Regions from separate parts of the Homo sapiens genome. Here region 2 is linked to region 1. The links are contacts of gene promoters, found by promoter capture Hi-C in human tissues and cell types (Jung and others, 2019). All regions are on one chromosome and are shown on one strand. The core of a region is centred on a gene start or on the middle of the fragment in contact, and the rest is flanking DNA. Distances in the headings are between cores, read along the strand shown.

Region 1 (3,345 bases), core at 530-3,029:
ATTTATTTTTTCTTCGGGTGCATCCAATAGTTATCAACTTTTCCTCCTCTTTAAAAGCTACTTAAATCTCATTGAAGTTTTGTTTTGTTTTGTTTTTGAAATCTAAGTAATGAGAGAAACAATTGTTAACTTCTCAATTAAACTTGATAGGAAAGGAAATAATTTCAGAAGCCCTGTGTCCATGAGTAGGATATGTTTTATTGCCTCCTTGTTTGCGGTGCAATGACTCTGAGTGACAATCAACTTCTATAGCACCTTTTTTTTTTTTTTCAGGAAATAAAGTAGCATGTTCCTGAATAATTCCCCCACCCCCTTTTATTTTCCTGGTAGTCAGGCTTCCTCCAAAATACCTTATTTGACCTTTATACCTTTAGAAACAGCAAGTGCCTAATTCGCCTCTGTGGGTTGCTAATCCGATTTACGTGAGCGGAACCTAGTATTATTTTAGCTCCCCTACCGAAAAAATAATACACATGGATAATAGTTCTATTACCAGCTCCTGCTTCTGACTTTTTTCTCTCTGTTTCGCAGGCCCGATAGCTCTGGGAAAGCAGAACTTGGCCTTTTCCAAAAATTTTCTGCCCTTGGTTTTGGGGATCATTTGGGCAAGCCCGAGGTGCTGTGCATGGGGGCTCCTGGAATCCTGGGAAGGGCAGAAAGCCTTGGCCCCAGACTCATCGTGCAGCAGCTCTGAGCAGTATTTCGGCTGAGGAGTGACTTCAGTGAATATTCAGCTGAGGAGTGACTTGGCCACGTGTCACAGCCCTACTTCTTGGGGGCCTGGTGGAAGAGGGTGGCGTAGAAGGTTCCAAGGTCCCAAACTGGAATTGTCCTGTATGCTTGGTTCACACAGTGCGTTATTTTACCTTCCTCTGAGCTGCTAATCGCCTGCCTCTGAGCTGGGTGAGATAAATATCACAAGGCACAAAGTGATTGTACAATAAAAAAATCAAATCCCTCCCATCCATCCTTCAGTCTGCCACACACGCAGTCTACGTTACACACATGTCACGTAAAGCAGGATGACATCCATGTCACATACATAGACATATTAACCGAAATGTGGCCCTTCGGTTGCATATATTCTCATACATGAATATATTTATAGAAATATATGCACATATTTTTGTATATTGGATATATTTATGTAACTATAAATTTACATGCGTATGGATATGAAAATAAATGCATACACATTTATGTAAAAAAATTTGTACACATGCATTTACATATGTAAATACATACATCTCTATGTATTAATGTTTAAAAACACTCAATTTCCAGCCTGCTGTTTTCTTTTAATTTTCCTCCTATTCCGGGGAAACAGAAGCGTGGATCCCACGTCTATGCTATGCCAAAATACGCTGTAATTGAGGTGTTTTGTTTTGTTTTGTTTTTTGAAATCGTATATTACCGAAAAACTTCAAACTGAAAGTTGAATAACGGGCCCAGCGGGGAAATAAGAGGCCAGACCCTGACCCTGCATTTGTCCTGGATTTCGCCTCCAGAGTCCCCGCGAGGGTCCGGCGCGCCAGCTGATCTCTCCTTTGAGAGCAGGGAGTGGAGGCGCGAGCGCCCCCCTTGGCGGCCGCGCGCCCCCGCCCTCCGCCCCACCCCGCCGCGGCTGCCCGGGCGCGCCGTCCACACCCCTGCGCGCAGCTCCCGCCCGCTCGGGGATCCCCGGCGAGCCGCGCCGCGAAGGGGGAGGTGTTCGGCCGCGGCCGGGAGGGAGCCGGCAGGCGGCGTCCCCTTTAAAAGCCGCGAGCGCCGCGCCACGGCGCCGCCGCCGCCGTCGCCGCCGCCGGAGTCCTCGCCCCGCCGCGCTGCGCCCGGCTCGCGCTGCGCTAGTCGCTCCGCTTCCCACACCCCGCCGGGGACTGGCAGCCGCCGCCGCACATCTGCCGCCACAGCCTCCGCCGGCTACCCGAACGTTCTCGGGGCCAGCGCCGAGTGGATCACCGGGGACCGCGAGGCACCCGCGCGCCGCAGACCCCGCGCGGGCTGGAGCACCCGGCAGAGCGCGCCACAGCGCCGTGGCCTCTGCTGCCCGGGCTGCGCCAGAGCCGCGGACGGGCGCGCAGAGCGCCGGGGACTCCGGAGCCGATCCCTAGCGCCGCGATGCGGAGCACCTACTGCAGGAGATCGGGGGCCTGGGACGCGCTGGCCGAGGTGTGATCGGACCCCAGGCTAGCCACAAAGGGCACTTGGCCCCAGGGCTAGGAGAGCGAGGGGAGAGCACAGCCACCCGCCTCGGCGGCCCGGGACTCGGCTCGACTCGCCGGAGAATGCGCCCGAGGACGACGGGGCGCCAGAGCCGCGGTGCTTTCAACTGGCGAGCGCGAATGGGGGTGCACTGGAGTAAGGCAGAGTGATGCGGGGGGGCAACTCGCCTGGCACCGAGATCGCCGCCGTGCCCTTCCCTGGACCCGGCGTCGCCCAGGATGGCTGCCCCGAGCCATGGGCCGCGGCGGAGCTAGCGCGGAGCGCCCGACCCTCGACCCCCGAGTCCCGGAGCCGGCCCCGCGCGGGGCCACGCGTCCCTCGGGCGCTGGTTCCTAAGGAGGACGACAGCACCAGCTTCTCCTTTCTCCCTTCCCTTCCCTGCCCCGCACTCCTCCCCCTGCTCGCTGTTGTTGTGTGTCAGCACTTGGCTGGGGACTTCTTGAACTTGCAGGGAGAATAACTTGCGCACCCCACTTTGCGCCGGTGCCTTTGCCCCAGCGGAGCCTGCTTCGCCATCTCCGAGCCCCACCGCCCCTCCACTCCTCGGCCTTGCCCGACACTGAGACGCTGTTCCCAGCGTGAAAAGAGAGACTGCGCGGCCGGCACCCGGGAGAAGGAGGAGGCAAAGAAAAGGAACGGACATTCGGTCCTTGCGCCAGGTCCTTTGACCAGAGTTTTTCCATGTGGACGCTCTTTCAATGGACGTGTCCCCGCGTGCTTCTTAGACGGACTGCGGTCTCCTAAAGGTAGAGGACGCGGGCCAGGGCCCGGGGTGGGTGGTGGGTGGGAGGGGGATTTGGGCAGCCACTGCGGTAGAGCCCTTCCTTACGTCCAGGCCAGAAGTAAACAGACCCCTCTCCAGTCCACGTGCAACGGAGCCCTGCAGGGGCTCCCACTTCCAGCTGCCCCGGGCGACCGTAAGCCTCACCCTCCCGGCCCGCACTCTTCCACCCCTCTTTCTTCCCCTCTCCCTGGAATACTTTTGGAGCTGTTAACACTTAGATGAGGTGTTTTATTTATTTATTTATTTATTTTTAATTTTTTTAAAAACTTTTTTGGGTCAAAGAAATCCCTTTGAGAGGGTAGCCCCTGGGTTTCACCCGTTAGCTGAGAACCTGTCCG
Region 2 (3,345 bases), core at 333-2,832, 1.1 Mb after region 1:
TGAAATTTCCTAAATCTGGTGACTATTGTTCTATTGGCCCCTGGAAGGCCATGAAGAAATACAAAGAACAAGTAACGACATTCTCAGACTCCAGAATTGAAAAATGGCTTAATGGGATTCTTCCCGTTTGCCTAGAAGTTAGAAGATGTGGAATCTTGTCCCACTTTGTCACTGACCATTCTTTTGAATTTGAGCAACACAATCAACATAAATGAGCCTTAGTTAATGTATTTATGAAATAAGAAATGGTTAGTTTCAATATATCTGAAGTCCTTTACATCAAGAAAAATATAAATTGTTCAATTGTATTTTTTTTTTTTTTTTTTTTGAGACGGAGTCTCGCTCTGTCGCCCAGGCTGCAGTGCAGTGGCACCATCTCGGCTCACTGCAAGCTCTGCCTCCCGGGTTCATGCCATTCTCCTGCCTCAGCCTCCCAAGTAGCTGGGACTACAGGCACCCGCCACCACTCCCAGCTAATTCTTTGTATTTTGTTTAGTAGGGACGGGGTTTCACCATGTTAGCCAGGATGGTCTTGATCTCCTGACCTCGTGATCCGCCCGCCTCGGCCTCCCAAAGTGCTGGGATTACAGGCATGAGCTACCGCGCCCGGCCATTTAATTGTATTTTAAAGCAAAATTATATTGTGTGCCTTACCCATTTCCCCTTCTCCAATGATCTCATTCTTGATCTGAAGCTTTTTGGAAAATTTCAGCCAGTAACTCTGAATTATTAATTATACTCCTGGCCTTTTCTAGACAAGGGAATATACAATAGCCTACAAATGTGGTAAACAAATTATTAGTCAACAGATATTTACTGAGAAACTACTAGAGACAAAGTACTATATAAAACTAATTAGTATTAGAGCCTCACTGGAACCAACTATGGGGCATAACTGGTAATATTATTAAACAGTGAAGCTCCCAGGTAATGGATTAGAGTAGAGATACATACCTTAAAGAGGCAGGAGACTCTCCATCTAAGCCTGGATAGTTCCCAGAGGGACAGTGTTAGCATACTTGAGAAAGAAATGCATTTGATAGAAACAGCATTGATCAGCCTTGGAAGCATAGAGATATAACCTTGAGAACCTGTCTAGCACAATTTAGATCCACTGGTACCCCTATTGAAGAGTCCTCAAGGATGAAAGAGATATAACTATCAGGCTAAATTGTAACTGGAATTTAGTTCTTCCAACTAATTCCACTTTCATGGTATCCATGCCCACTAAACTACCATCTGATTCTAATTTGACATCCCACATATCTGTCACTGTTAAGCATGGAAAATATGATTTCCCTCGAATAAAAATAATAGATTTTTCTGACTGGGATTAGCAGCTCTTGGTGCACTGATAAATCTGTATTCTGAGCTTCTTGAAGTGTTGGCAGGAAGAAGGGGCTGTCTATAATGAACTTCGTATAATAATGCCAGACTTTCCCAAGGAAACCACACATCATAACCGGGCTTCTTTCCCCTTAAGCTTCAACACATTTATTTATTCTTTATCTCTGTTCTCTCTTATTTCTTCTTATTCTTATCCTCTTCCCTCTCCTTCAATTTGCCTCAACAAAGATAATGAACTGACGTGGGCTTGGGTTTTAAAAATATTTGGGATTAGACAGATGTTAGAAGAAGGCATTTCAAAGAGAGGGGCAATTAAATTGGGTTGGGGGATTAAGGAGACCAGCCTCAGGCAGTTTAAGGAGTGATGCTAAGTGAGGTGAGACTAGAAGCTTAAGTCATGTCCAGATCATAAAGATTTCCAAATGGCATTAAGGAATCTGGCCCCAGGCAGTTGACTGAGAGTTTTTAGGATTTCTCAAAAAATAAAGACATAGACCAAAGTTGAATTTTAGGAAGATTATGTATATTAAATACAATCATACATGAAGGAGTATGTGTGTAGTATTAACTATAAACTATACTTAACACAAAAGTACATAGGTCAGTACTTTCAACTTCAATCAAAGAGATTACACATTCCTCTTTAGTGAATGGAGGTAAGGAACTTGTAGAAAATGACTAATGTTTACTCACAAGGAGACAACTGGAAGGAGCTGGAGGGATGTGGGTATGTACATGAGTAATGGAAGGAGGAAAGAAAAGAAAGAATAGAGATTTCTATAATTCATCCAGTACCTTTCCTCAGGGGTAGAGTTTGGCTTTCAAATGACCAGCAAGTCAACATTGGCAGCAGCTCAGCCACCAGAGCAATATCCAGGAAGCTACTGGAATCACAGAGGATTTTGAAACACATGTGTCTGGATTTCAGTGTTATTCCTGAATAAGTCTGTAGTCTTCCCTCAACACCTCCTTCTGTGAGAAATGGAAACTCGGGCAACACAAGGCAAGGAGGGACAACTGGACACACCAGCTGAATCATAACATCTGGTGAAGACTTCTCTGCTATCACAGAATCTGAGAGATGGCTAATACTCAGACCAGCTCCCAAGAGTAGCTTTTCCTGCAGGAGGGTGCAACAGCCTCAGGATTTCAGCTCAGGGGGAAATATGTCTGTATGAGTAGGAGAGAAATGGAGTTGTGTGTAAGCATATGTTTGTGGTTTTCGAAGCAGAGGACAAACACAAAATCACATAGCCTCCTGGTCTGATGGGTTTCCCTGACTTGGATGTTTCAGTGATGCAGTTTGGCCCTAGAGCCTTCATCTGAGCTAAGGTTCCCTCCCTCCCTTTTTGCTTCAGCTCAGTGTTTTGCTTGAATCTGAGTCATAAGCTCCTTAAGCTGGCAGGAAGCGGATAGTCGGGCTGGCAGCTTGCTCTCCCCCAAGCAGAGGGAGTGTCTTGGCTGACACCTAAGCAACCTTTTCCATCCCCAGACTCTGTAACAGAACCAATGAGCATTAGAAGAATGGAAGGCTGGGCTATACTCACAGAGTAGAAGAGAAAAACCATCCTATAGAAATCCAATAGCTCAAGCCATGGTTTTAAAAAAAATGGCTTATGGAATTTCCTCAGCCACTCATGATGTCCTTACAATATTTTGTGTTTATCCCTCAAAGCTTGTCTATGTACACTCTCAACCTAGCTCCCACCCCAGCTCTACAGGTCTTTATTCTCCATCCAGTTTCTGAATGATTTTCCCCTCTAGCAAACTCCATCCTTCCCTCTACTTCTCCTAAACCACAGCCACTCTAACAGCTAAGTTCATACTCTGAAAGCTTGCCCTGTAGGGACTTAGAGCAGAATACTACCAAGTATGACATCTTGGCATGCTGAGTACTTTGAAATGGAGGAGATAGGAAAGGCCTCTGCAACAAGGTATCTCCAACCTTTTCCCTCTTTCTTCTGTCTTCTAAGACATGTCATAGAAACCAGATTCCTC

The links. Contacts are between HindIII fragments. The study calls those that stand out against the background at their distance.
Region 2: a fragment that was not itself captured here is called in contact with the fragment with the promoter of BMP2 in region 1 in 1 of the 25 tissues and cell types used here (dorsolateral prefrontal cortex).

What each region holds. Positions count from the first base shown.
Region 1 is chr20:6,765,907-6,769,251 of GRCh38, forward strand. It overlaps BMP2 (bone morphogenetic protein 2), which reads left to right and starts at 1,780. Exons shown (of 3, transcript NM_001200.4): 1 at 1,780-2,969. LOC105372517 (a long non-coding RNA gene) reads right to left here and starts at 1,578. Exons shown (of 4, transcript XR_937229.2): 1 at 1,415-1,578; 2 at 494-899; 3 at 1-102. RefSeq lists promoters at 1-2,834, 1,644-2,285, 1,675-2,834, cis regulatory regions at 748-1,538, 1,545-1,644, 2,285-2,459 and silencers at 1,724-1,773, 1,864-1,913. The HindIII fragment of the contact is 20,905 bases long and covers 1-3,345 here.
Region 2 is chr20:7,839,362-7,842,706 of GRCh38, forward strand. No RefSeq gene overlaps it. Among named protein-coding and RNA genes, the nearest start is that of HAO1, 99 kb to the right of the region's middle. The HindIII fragment of the contact is 3,038 bases long and covers 64-3,101 here.